Linked DNA regions of Homo sapiens: region 1 is linked to region 2. Evidence: promoter capture Hi-C in 16 types of primary human blood cells and fetal thymus (Javierre and others, 2016). All regions are on one chromosome and are shown on one strand. Each heading gives the region's core, a stretch centred on a gene start or on the middle of the fragment in contact. The rest is flanking DNA. Distances are from core to core; before and after follow the strand shown. Region 1 overlaps TUT4 (terminal uridylyl transferase 4). Region 2 holds the start of GPX7 (glutathione peroxidase 7).

Region 1 (6,673 bases), core at 3,338-5,837, 150 kb after region 2:
ATTTTAAAGATACCTAGGGGCTGTCAGCCAGTAGTCAACTTGCTTGCATACAAAAAGACTTCTCTTTGGAGATTCCAAGGATGTTACGAGTTGTATGTCAGGAAATGGGTTTGGAGGCCAATTATAACATCACAATTACATCAGTTGAGTTTGAGATGTTGAACCTGCTTTGTATAACTCTCTTTTGTACATTATTGGATTTGATTTGCTAATATTTTGTTGAGGAATTTTGCATCATTGTTCATGAGAGATTGGTCTGTAGTTTTCTTTACTTACAATGTCTTTGTCTGGTTTTGGTATTAGGGTAATGCTGGCCTTGTAGAATGAGTTAGGAAGTGTTCCTTCTGCTTCTGTCTTCGAAAGATGAGGCAGAAGGAACACTTCCTAACTCATTCTTCGAGAATTGGTTTAATTTCTTCCTTAAATGTTTGGTAGAATTCATCAGTGTACCCATCTAGGCCTAGTGCTTTCTTTTTTGGATGGTTATTAATTATTGATTCAGTTTATTTAATAGATATAGGCCCATTCAGATTTTCTGTTTCTTCTTGTGTGAGTTTTGGCATATTGTGTCTTTTTTTTTTTTTTGAGATGGAATCTCACTCTGTTGCCCAGGCTGGAGTACAGTGGCGTGATCTCGGCTCACTGCAATCTCCGCCTCCTGGGTTCAAGCAATTCTCCTTCCTCAGCCTCTGGAGTACCTGGGATTACAGGTGCCCGCCACCATACCCGGCTCATTTTTGTATTTTTAGTAGAGACAGCGTTTCACCAATGTTGGCCAGGCTGGTCTTGAACTCCTGACCTCAGGTGATCCGCCCGCCTTGGCCTCCCAAAGTGCTGGGATTACAGGCGTGAGCCACCGCCCCTGGCTGGTATATTGTGTCTTTTAAGGAATTAGTTCATTTCATCTAGGTTATCAAAATTGTAGTTCATAGTGTTATTATTCTTTTAATGTCCATGAGATATGTATTGATATCCCCTCTTTCATTTCTGTTGTTAGTAATTTATATACCTTCTCTTCTTAATTAGCCTGGCTAGGAGTGATTTGTTTTTTAACAAATTTGTTCACTGGATGATATTTAAAATTTACCATAAATTAATTAGGCCTGCCAAGGCCAGCATTACTCTCTGTATTCTTATTCTTATTCTTATTTTTTTTTTTTTTGAGACAGAGTCTCGCTCTGTCACCCAGGCTGGAGTGCAGTGGCGCAATCTCGGCTCACTGCAAGCTCCACATCCCAGGTTCACGCCATTCTCCTGCCTCAGCCTCCCGAGTAGCTGGGACTAAAGGCGCCCACCACCATGTCAGGCTTATTTTTTTGTATTTTTAGTAGAGATGGGGTTTCACCGTGTTAGCCAGGATGGTCTCGATCTCCTGACCTTGTGACCCGCCCACCTGGGCCTCCCAGAGTGCTGGGATTACAGGCGTGTGCCACCGCGCCCAGCCTACTCTCTGTATTATTATAATCGTTGTTTAGGCTTTAAATAGGGATCATATGTACTAATTCTCCAGTAATATCATTTGCCACTTTGCCGGAATACTATGATTAACAAAAATGGACCACAAATTTGATTTTCTTGGTGGTTTGTCTGTATTCTCTCCTTACCCATGGATTAGGAGTCACTGAGGTAGCATGAAGTAATAGAAATACCAAGGCATGGTATTTAGAGCCAGAAATAACTAGTCAGAATCCTAATTCTAACATTTTGGCCTTAACAATCTGCATAAGTCTGAGTTTCATCATCATTAAAAATGTAATAATGATAATATTTCAGTGTTGATATGAGGAACAGAAACATTTAATGCTTTTGAATGTAGTAGGTGCTAAAGTAGACATTCATAAACAGTGCTTGCTTTTATTATTATTTTTACTATTATGATTTATGCTCATTAGCAGCATTATTGCTATTATTATTGGAAAAATGTAGGTAGGACTACCATATTCAACTTTAAAAACTCTTTCATTATCTGTTTAACAGACATCTGCTTAATATTGATCAAACAAGAGACAGTTCATGGAATGTTTCCTATCATAATGAGGTTTGATTTCGGGGGACTTTGTGATATATATAGACTGATGATACATGGAATTTTGTTTCTGGCCTTTTTTAATGGTTGTCATATGGGACCTCATTGTCCATTGCTCTGGCATCATTTAAGTATTGACCATTGGCATCAATTATCTTTTAAGGGTAAGGATATGTTTAAAGAAGCTAATGATGTCTGCCTCCATTTGTAATTAAGCTTTAACTTTATATGGCTGGGTATTACTAAGGCACAGCTAAGAGCATTTTTTTGATGGTCAGCAGTACTAAGTTCTTTACGTCAAAAAGAGCTGTCCTAGGCAGAAGATTTTTGCTCTACCCTAGCAAATCATAATAAGTAAAAGCAAATTTTCACATAAAAATTAATTCCAAAAAAGATTTGGGAGTGTTCACACATGATTTTATGAAAAATTTTTTTAACCCATATCAGCTTAAAATTTGCAACTTAATGAATGAATCTTGAGGACATTATGCTAAGTGAAGTAATCCAGTCACAGAAAGACAAATACTATTTGATTCTACTTATATGAAGTACCTAGAGTAGTCAAATTCATAGGGACAGAAAGTAGAGTGGTGGTTGCCAGGGAATCTCAAGGAGGGAGAAATGGGAAGTAATAGTTTCATAAATACAGAGTTTTAGTTTTACCAGATGATAAGATTTTTGTGAATGGATGGTGGTGATGGTAGCGTGACAGTATGACTATACTTAGGCCGCAGGACTGTATGCTTATGATGGTAAATTTTATATTTTGTGTATCTTACCACAACTAAAAAATTACAAGTTAGGCCAGTCGCAGTGGTTTACACCTGTAATCCCAGCACTTTGGGCGGCCGAGGGGGGTAGATTACTTGAGGTCAGGAGTTTGAGACCAGCCTGGCCAATATGGCAAAACCTCATCTCTACTAAAAAATACAAAAATTAGCCAGGCATGGTGGCATATGCCTGTAATCCCAGCTACTTGGGAGGCTGAGGCACAAGAATGGCTTGAACTGGCGAGGTGGAGGTTGCAGTGAGCTGAGATTGTGCCACTGCACTCCAGCCTGGGTGACAGAGCGAGACTCTGTCTAAACAGAAAAATGCAATGTAAATATAACAGTACATATTAGAATATCACAATAAGATAAGAATTTTGGAAATGTTTAGGGTCATTCTTTACATAAATATGATTGACTTATTTGGTGATCCTTATAATATGATTGACTTGTTTAGAGGGAGGACTGAGTGCTAAGTTGAAGATGATTCGTGTTGAATGAGAGAGAACAGAGAGACAGCAGGGAGAGAGAGTGTGTGTGTGTGTGTCTGTGTGTGTGTGTGTGTAAAAGTGTATAGCATTAGTGCTTCTGGGGGCTGAAACAGAGTGGAGAGAATTAAACACAGTGAAACATGAGAATTCAAAAGAATAGGCAAAATGAGTGATGATTAACGTTACAAGGCCCACAGACCTACTCCACTGTGTTATCAGCCAACGTAGTTGGGCTGGATCATGGATATTACTGAGAAGTATGAAATCTCTTAAAAACAATCATGATCTAAAGAGTTGGATTGTTGTTACTCAGAAGTATGAATTATCTCAAAACAGGGTTCTAAAGAGGTAGTTTATTTCAATATCTAGCAAATAAATCTGTGTTTACAAAACATGAAATACCTATAATAGCGTCTGAATCTTTAAGGATAAAATATTACATGTCAGCCCCTTAATATCTTCACTTCTTTCTTGAGGTCAGAAATCCTATGTCTTTTGTTTCAGATATTAATAGCTGCAATTGCCTCTTTTTTTTTTTTTTTTTTTTTTTTTGAGACAGAATCTCGCTTAGTCACCCAGTCTGGAGTGTAGTGGCACAATCTCAGCTCATTGCAACCTCAATCTCCTGAGTTCAAGCGATTCTCCTGCCTCCGCCTCCCAAGTAGCTGGGACTACCAGCACGAACCACCACGCCCAGCCAATTTTTTGTATTTTTATTAGAGACGGGGTTTTGCCATGTTGGCCAGGCTGGTCTTGAACTCCTGACCTCAGGTGATCCGCCTGCCTCGGCCTCCCAAAGTGCTGGGATTACAGGCATGAGCCACTGCGCCCGGCCTCAGTCTTTCACTTTTGTTTTATGAAATGTCGGAATATGTGCTAGATGACTTTTAGTAAACTGTATCTGTTTAAGTAATATGTAAATGTTAAAAAGCAACTTATTAGCCCTAGTCCCTGGAAGCTTGATTTCTGTGTAACATACTTACATATTAAATATAGTCATTCAACAAACATATATTAAGTGTTCTCTATGTGGCTTTGGTCTAGTAGGGTTCTGGGTTTCAGAGATAAGCCATAGTCCTTACCCACAAAGAACTTAAATCTGAGGATAAAATTGGAGGGGCCAGACATGTAGTTAATTTTATAAATCACTGTCACATCAAAAATGGAAATGGCCATTGGGCCCAGGCCCACCTTAACTAGTGGATTTAAATGGTATTGTGGTTTAACTGTATTCTGGGACCCATTAGTCACGGTAGAGGGTAAAGAGAAGGTGGTGTGGTATGTTTTCTCCATTTATAAACTACTGACTGACTAATTTATATAGTCTTTCCTCATTTTCACTGGGAAAAGTGAGCACTTAGGGAGATGATTGTCTTGCCCAGAACCACTATTCCTCAGGATAGAGGCTAGAAATTAGGTCTCCTGACTGAATCTGTTGCACCTTCCTACTTTATTGCATCTCTTAAGCCTCCTTTAGAATAAAAGTATCAATTACTTGTGGAAGTCAGTTACACAGACATCTTACGGGATACTTTTCTTGTAAAAATAGCGTTTTTTTCTCCTTTTTTCTTCTCCTTAGGACAGCGGATTATTATTCATAATAAAGTTTATAGTCTTTATCAAAATGTAAGGGAAAGCTTCCTAATTTTCCTTTTTTTTTTTTGTTTTTTTGTTTTTTTGTTTTTTTTTGGTGAGATGGAGTCTCGCCCTGTCGCCCAGGCTGGAGTGCAGTGGCACGATCTCGGCTGACTGCAACCTCTGCTTTCCAGGTTCAAGCATTTCTCCTGCCTCAGCCTCCCGAGTAGATGGGATTACAGGTGCACGCCACCACGCCCAGCTAATTTTTTGTATCTTTAGTAGACACTGGGTTTCACCATGTTGGCCAGGCTGGTCTCAAACTCCTGACCTCATGATCCACCATTCTCGGCCTCCCAAAGTGCTGGGATTACAGGCGTGAACCACCGTGCCTGGCCCTAATTTTCCATTTTTACAAAATGATAGTCCAATTGCTTTTTAGCCTTATCTGATATAGATAAATGATTAAAGGTACTAGGTCCCAAAACAGTTCTGTTGCCTTCCTTTGGGTGCACAATCAGTGGGTATTATCTATTTTGTATTTTTATATCTGTGATCCTTTGATGAAACTGCTGTTTCATCATGACTGCTGTTTCTTTTTTAAGTTTTGCTTCATTATTCTTGGACTGGATATGTTTTGATAGGTCAAGTAGATAACATCAAATGTATCATTTGGAGTTTAATGCTCTTAAAAGACATCCTTTTCCAGCTTTGGTCTTTCAGATACGTTTTATTCATTAACTTCTTGGCATCAAATTATACCATCATCCTGACATGTTCTTTTTGGAAGAAGTATTTTAGTATGTCTTATAGGTAAATTCTAAAATGGTATTAGAGTATTTGGACCTTTGGGTTGGATCACTTGAAATCTAATAATACAATTAATTTTTTTATGCAGATCTTTGATGGAAAACAGATTCCACAGAGAATGGTTGATGGATGGAATGCTTTCTTCTTTGATAAAACAGAAGAACTGGTAATTTTAAAATAGTCTTTATGTTCTAGAATGCTCACTGATATATGTTAGCATCTGTATAATTTAATAATTTTACTTAAATTTGCTGTCCATGTTTTGGATAGTACTGTATAGACATTGTTCTTTTCTTTTTTTTTTTATATGTAGAAAAAGCGTTTACCTTCACTTGGAAAGAACACAGAATCATTAGGGGAGCTTTGGCTGGGACTGCTTCGTTTCTATACTGAAGAGTTTGATTTCAAGGAATATGTAATTAGCATTCGGCAGAAAAAGCTGTTGACAACTTTTGAGAAGCAGTGGACTTCCAAGTGCATTGCAATTGAAGGTAACATTTAAGCTGATATTAATTCAGGAGCAACCAAAATTTGGTCAACGAAATTGAGGGGAAAACTGAAATACATTAGGATTTGGAAGATTCTTCCTCTTTTATCAGTTTTCCTCCTTTAATGTGTAATTTTAGAGGAAGAGTTTGCTGATTTGTATAGTCTGAGTACATATAAGTATTAGACTTCAGCGGTGACTTCTAAGTATATTTTTATGGTACAGTGAATGTAATTCTTAATCATTGATATATTTCTTTTGTAGACCCTTTTGACTTGAATCATAACCTTGGTGCTGGAGTTTCCAGAAAAAGTAAGTTTTAAATATAGAGATTCTCTGATTTTAAAACTCTGACACATTAATGTCTGCATCTTTATTGTTTTCTTCTTTCTTTAATAGTGACCAATTTCATCATGAAAGCATTTATCAATGGAAGGAAACTTTTTGGTACCCCTTTTTATCCACTCATTGGCAGAGAAGCTGTAAGTTTACATTATATGAATTGTGAATCTTT
Region 2 (6,854 bases), core at 2,052-4,551:
TCATTAGACTAATCCTTAAATTTATTAAAGCCTTTAGGCAATAAATACAAAGCTGGCTAATGGAACTTGATTATAAGACTTTGATTAGAATTTTGGCTCAAATGCTATGTTTTTAGCTTCTAGGTATATATTATTAATGGATTTAAAACCCTAGCCGGTGCCTAGGCAGCCTAGCCCTATCCTCCATAATTGACATTTGGGTCAGATAATTCTTTGTTGTCGGGGGGATGTCCTGTTTATTTATTATCAGATGTTTGGCAGCATCCCTGGCCTCTACCCACTAGATGCCCAGTCTTGACAATCAACAATGTCTCCAGACATTGCCAATTGTGCCCTAAAGGGAATAATCACTCCTAGTTGAGAACTACTGGGCTAGATGATTGAACCACTGAGCTGTACCTCCTGTACCCTACCTCCACCAGGTGAGAAAGGACCCATGCCTGGGGCCACTGGCTATTAGAACAACCTCCTCAATTTGAGGTCAGCATACACCATACTGTGCCTGGAATGGTGAGAAACTGGGACTGTTAACTCCCTTCCTCAGTTAGGGTTCTTCCTTTTTTTCCCCCTGCTGGATCCCTGGGCAATGAGAACATTAAAGCTTTTTTTTTTTTTTTTTTTTTTTTAAAGACAGAGTCTTGCTCTGTTACCAAGGCTGGAGTGCAGTGGCGCGATCTTGGCTCACTGCAACCTCCACCTCCCGGGTTCAAGCAATTCTCCTGCCTCAGCCTCCTGAGTAGCTGGGATTACAGGCACACGCCACCATGCCCAGCTAATTTTTGTATTTTTTAAGTACAGACGGAGTTTCACCATGTTGGCCAGGCTAGCCTCGAACTCCTCACCTTGTGATCCACCCGCCTCAGCCTCCTGAAGTGCTGGGATTACAGGCGTGAGCCACTGCGTCCGGCCAAAGCTTGCTTATTTTTAACTCACAACTTGCATGTCTGCCCGCTCTTTTGGAAGGGGGAAAATCTGGCTTCTAGTTCCATCCCTGAAACCAAAAAGCTTGGTCCTTAGAAACCAAAACACAGACAGACACACCCAAGTACACACAGTTAATTTACATATGTACATATACAAGCACAGACACAGACTCAGATTTGTACACAGAAGAAGTAAACCATTCACAAAGGCACACACTACACATAACCCCACACATTCCCAAGTGGTCACCCATTCATCCATACTGGTCTAAATGACTATGGTCCCAATTAGCCTGAGGGCATCAACCATGTCAATCTTGCTCATGACTATGTCATCAGAGCTGGACCCAGTGTCAGACATGTAGTAGGAGCCAGTAAATGTTTGCAGGTGAAGGAATGAGCATATTGCCCAAGCAGCAAGCCTAGCCTGGGTTAACTCAGCACCAATTACAGCTTTTCTGGACTCCCTGTTCCCTGGTTTACTGCTGAACTTGGCAACTAAGAGCATAGACTCTGGAGCTGGACTGTCTGGGTTCAAATTCTTACTGTCTTACTAGCTGTGTGACCTTGTTCTATTTTTGTCTTAGCACTTACTACTACTAGGAATTACCTCGTGCATTTCTCAGTTCCTTGTTTATTGTCTTTCTTCTCCTTACCCCATGTAAGCTCCATTTAGTGGAAATGTATCTGTTTTGTTCACCACTGTATCCCCAGGGCCTGACCTAGTATCTAGTTAGTATACAGTAGGTGTTCAATAATGAACAACGAATTAATAAGTAGCAGAGCTGGTCAGACGCTAAACCTGGGGCTCTCTGGTGAGCTGCCCTAGAGAGAACAGGAGGCCTGAATTGGAGCGGGCCCTGTTCTTGGTTCTTTGCCCAGAGTTCTAAATGAAGTTCCTGCTGGGATCCACCAAACACAGGTGCAAAGCACTCTACAGTTTACTAAGTGCATCCACGCCTTCATCTGATTTGAAACTCACGACACTCTGGGGGACAATCAAGCAGGGATTACTGTCCCCAAGACTCCCAGCATAATCGAAAATTTCAAGGCTTATAGAGTACTGGTCTTCACTAAAGATGGTGTTGCTCCCAGGAGAAAAATGTTGACATCTATTTTTGTGTGGTTCATCCAAAACTGGACGCTGGCCCACCTGTTCATTAGATTTCAACTCCCCAGCCATTTCACACCAGTCCCCAGGTCCATCCTGAAGAGGTCCACTCTGGGAGTTCTTCACTGCACATAATGTGACATGCAGGCCTCTCAATGTAGTGTTCAAGGTCCCGCCTGCTCCCTTGCCAGTCGTTTCAGCCTCATCTTCCACCACTCGTAGCCTCCAGCTTTAGACTCTTTGAAGCACAACAGCTGGAACTCCTGGCCCCGCGCCCCCCCACCCCCTTCTTGCTGTTTGCTTCTTAGTCTTGCTAAAATCCACTCGTATTCAAAGACTCAACCCAGATACCCTTCCTCTCCGAAGTCTTCTCTGAGCTTAGATTCCCTCTTGGTAATGAGGGGGCAATTAGCCTGGATGACTCTTATGTGTGCCCCTGAGCTGCCATCTAAGGACTTGGCCTAGAGAGGACCCCGGATGTGGCGGTGGGGTTCTCTTCCAGGCCCCGTCTTTCTAGTGTAGTGTGACCTTGTGCGAATGCCTGCCCTCTCTGGGCCTTTGTGCCCTCTCCCAGGGATGATCCGTGTGAGGTCTCCGTGCATCTGAAATAACTCTCTCTCTGCCCTGCACATTGATCTCCACAGTGTTCTTCACTGGACTCCGAATCAGCCACTCCCCGTTCCAGATGCAGAAAATGAGGACGGGAGAGGGAAAGGCCGCACGATGCTACGGTTACTTTTTTCACCCGTGAATGGCAAAGGCTGGGCAGTGGTGCCCGGCCTCCCGGCGAAGGTCTGGACCCCGCTGCCCAAAGGTGCCGGTAGCGAAGTGGGCGCCGACTGCGAGCGCTTCGGGTTCCTCCGCGCCAAGGCCGTGCCACGTAGCCGCGGGCCGGGCCGGGCCGGGCGCGGGATGGGGGCGCCGCGCCAGAGGTCACGGCCGAGCGGGGCGGGGGCCGGGGTTTGGCGGCCGCGCGGCTGGAGCGTCCTCGGAGCCACACCGCGCGGGGGACCGGGCTGCGGGGCGTCCCCAGCAGGCCCCGCCAGGGCGAGGCCGGGCCCAGCGGCGCCGCCAGACCCCGCGCACTCACCGATCCGCGGTACTTCTCCAGCGACACCAGTTTGCCCCGGATGTTGACCGCCTTGAAGTCGTAGAAGTCCTGCTCCTGCTGCGCGCAGGCCGCAGCCCACAGGAGCAGCCACGCCGCTGCCACCGTCGCCGCCACCATGGCTTGTTCCGGAGGTGGCGGCGTCGCGAGGGCAAAGACGGGGCGGGGGGATCTAGCGCGGGGGGCGGGAGGAGGCGGCTCTGGCGCCGCTCGGCCCGCAAGGCAGGACGCGCCGCGTTCTCGTTCCCTCCGCAGGCGGTGGATGTCCGGCTCTGGACCTCAGTTTCACCGTCTGTCCTGAGGCAGCGCACCCCTGCCCCGGACCCCAGAGCCAGGGTTTCAGGATTCTGTCCCCTGAGACCGGAGTTCGTTTCAGTGAGGCTCCCTCTTGTCCCAGGAAACAGCGACTTGGCAGGGACAGGGAGGCAAAAATCTGAGAGCTCAGCTTCTCATTAGTGCAGCGGCCTTAGGCTGGCCTGGTCACGCCCCCACTCCGACCTCAGTTTCTCCACATGTTAAGTGGAGCTAGTCGGTATAGGATGGAAGTAATAGAAAAACGGATGCGAAACACTTTAACAGTTGAATGGTGCCTGCAAACTTCAGGTGAATGAATGCATGTTCCCTGAAAGTGATGGCTGGGAGAAGAAGAGAGGACCGTGGGCCTGTTGCAGGTTAGGTTCCTGGAAGCAGATTCTGAGATGGAGATTGGAGTGCAGGATGTTTATGAGGGAGCACCCTTGGGATCAACAGGCGTGGGAAGGATGGGAGGGAACAGGAGTGGCACAGGGGGAAAGTAGTGAGCTCCATGCAGGCCCCAAGACAGTTTTAGCTGACTCGACAGGGACTCTAGAGCTAGAGTAGCCCATCAGATGAGCTAAGATGGCCAGGTCATCCTGCCTTTATCAGTCCTTGGATGTGGGGCCACCTGGCAAGTGGGGCAACAAGGGCCAAGATGGCCCTGTCTGTGGAGAAGCTGACATTAAAGGCTTTGTGCTAACAGCACTCCTAGCAGCTGGTGTCTGTCCTAAGTCCTCAGTGATGGGGGATCTGGGCAGCACATCACAATGTCTCCCCCTGCTCAGAAAACCCCTGTTGAGCCCATGAAATGTCAAACATGGAGCTGGATCCTGTACTCACAGGCTGTGAGTTTTTTCTGGAAACTCACAGACTGGTGTGAGAGAAACCAGGTAAACTGCAGATTTTATGTAATGTGGTAAGGGCTAAGCACTCCTGTGGTCATCAACAAAAACTTCCTGAGCACCTTTTCTATGCCAAGTTTTGCTTTAGGTGATTCTTAGGCAGGGATGAACAGGAGGGCATTATCTCTATCCAGGGAGACACAGGAATTAAATAATTTATAAATAGCTCTAAAATTACTGTTGTGGTGAGTACCACCTAAACTAGCCTGGAGGGCCATGGAGGGCTTTCCAGAAAAAGGGAGATTTGAGCTGAGCTCTGAAGAATGAGGAGAAATTGGTCAGGATGAAGCAACATACAAGTGCAAAGGTCCTGGGGGGAAAGGAACATGGTGCATTGAGTAACAAAGAAGCCTCATTTGGTTGGAACAGAGAGGACAAAGGATGAGAGGGAAAGGTGGAGAGGCAGGAGGGAGTGAGATCACACAGAGCCTAGTAGGCCACAGTAGGGACTGTGGTCTTTAAACCAAGAAATGAAGGTTCTTTTTAGCAGGGAGGTATCACAATGAGTCTTTTGTTGTAGAAAGATCTCTTTCGACAGGGCCCGGTGGCTCACACCTGTAATCCCAATACTTTGGGAAGCCAAGACTGGAGGATTGCTTGAGGCCAGGCGTTCAAGACCAGCCTGGGCAACCTAGCAAGAACTGTCTCTTCAAAAAATTAAAAAATTAGGCCAGGCGCGATGGCTTACGCCTGTAATCCCAGCACTTTGGGAGGCCTAGGCAGGCAGATCGCAAGGTCAGGAGAACGAGACCATCCTGGTTAATGCAGTGAAACCCCATCTCTACTAAAAATACAAAAAATTAGCCAGGTGTGGTGGCACACGCCTGTAGTCCCAGCTACTTGGGAGGCTGAGGCAGGAGAATCACTTGAACCCGGGAGGCAGAGGTTGCAGTGAGCAGAGATTGTGCCACTGTACTCCAGCCTGGGTGATAGAGCGAGACTCCATCTAAAAAAATAAAAATTAAAAATTAGCCTCGTGTGGTAGCATGTGCCTGTGGTTCTAGCTATTTAGGAGGCTGAGGCAGGAGGATTGCTTGAGCCCAGGAGTTCAAGGTTGCAGTGAGCTATGATCATACCACTGCACTCCAACCTGGGTGACACAGACACTATCTCAAAAAAAAAATCCTTCTGGCTGTTCTGTGGAGTTGATAGGAAAGGGCAAGAGCAGATGTGGTCTAGATGTTGGAGTTGACGTAGCTCCAGGGCTACCTCCTAGAGACCCAGAGGCAGTTGCTACCTAGCCTGAGCAGCCAGGCAAGGCCTTCTGGAGGTGTGAGGTGATACTGGAGTTATATCTTGAAAGAGGAATGGGAATTCTCTAGGAGGGTCAGGGCAACAACGTCAGACTGAAAGAGCAGTATCTATGACAGCACAGAGTCAGAGAAGTGCTTGGCTGTTTGAGGTGAGAAGGGGTGTGGGGCAGATGAGATTGGAAGGGTCATCAGGATAGAGAAGGGCCTTGAGTGCCAAGTCACTCTCTAGAGTGTGGCAAGCAAAGGTTTTGAAGCTGGCCACAAGATCATATAGTTACTAGGACTCGAACCCAGGCCTTCAGGTGTAGACCATGGGATTTTTCTGCACCACCAAGGTGGCCTCACTCTTCAGGAGAAGGCAATATTATCAGGAGAGGTGGAGAGCAGAGGAAACGGCGCTCCAGGCAAGGGCCAAGGCATACATAAGGTGCCCCTGCCCATCCTGCTCCTTCTTCCCCATCTCTTTTGGGAGCCTTAAGCCTGTGATGGGTCCCACAGCTATTAAATGGTCTCTTCTCTCTCTGCCTTCTGGAACCATTGGGCTCTCTTCCTGCCACCTGTCCCTTTCACTCAGCCCCTTCTTGAGTGTCCCAGTAACCAGGAGTTCTCAAATTCTACTTCATATAACTTGGAGTGTTGCAAGTTTGGCCAAGCTATTTCCTGTTAAAATCCAGATAGATGAGCCGGGCGAGGTGGCTCACATGTTTATACAAAATTAGCCGAGCGTGGTGGTGCATGCCTGTAATTCCAGCTACTCAGGAGGCTGAGGCAGGAGAATCACTTGAACCCAGGAGGCGGCGGTTGCGGTGAGCCAAGATCATGCCATTGCAGTCCAGCCTGGGCAACAAGAGTGAAACTCCGTCTCAAAAAAAAAAAAAAAAATCCAGATAGATGGGCATTTCTACTAAACAGGGGGAAAAAAGTTAATAGTTAAATATTTCTCAGCTGTAACTTTCTTTCCTGGGCACTTTTCTCCTTTCCTATTTATGCTTCAAAACCCAGCTCATATGTGAAAAAGATACTTGGTCATGCATGTTTATAGCAACACAATTTGTAATTGCAAAAATGTGGAACCAACTGAAATACCCGTCAATCAACGAGTGGATAAAGAAACTGTGGCATACTCCATACGATGGAATACTACTCAGCCATAAAAAGGAATGAATTAGTCAAACCAATCCCCTGAGCCCTATGCAAATCAGACACCGCCTATTCCAGCCTCCTCATGTAACTGGCTGGTTTCTGCTGTACTCGCGGTTT

Evidence for each region. The method cuts DNA at HindIII sites, captures the fragments that hold promoters and counts their contacts. A CHiCAGO score of 5 or more calls a contact.
Region 1: a fragment that was not itself captured here is called in contact with the fragment with the promoter of GPX7 in region 2 in 7 of 17 cell types (naive CD4 T cells, total B cells, naive B cells and 4 more); the score reaches 7.6 in naive CD4 T cells.

Annotation. Positions count from the first base shown.
Region 1 is chr1:52,445,755-52,452,427 of GRCh38, reverse strand. It overlaps TUT4 (terminal uridylyl transferase 4), which reads left to right. Exons shown (of 30, transcript NM_001009881.3): 21 at 5,761-5,838; 22 at 5,986-6,163; 23 at 6,424-6,471; 24 at 6,559-6,641. Among named protein-coding and RNA genes, the nearest start is that of PRPF38A, 44 kb to the right of the region's middle. The HindIII fragment of the contact is 679 bases long and covers 4,248-4,926 here.
Region 2 is chr1:52,598,818-52,605,671 of GRCh38, reverse strand. GPX7 (glutathione peroxidase 7) reads right to left here and starts at 3,301. Exons shown (of 3, transcript NM_015696.5): 1 at 3,125-3,301. The coding sequence starts at 3,262. The HindIII fragment of the contact is 11,376 bases long and covers 1,008-6,854 here.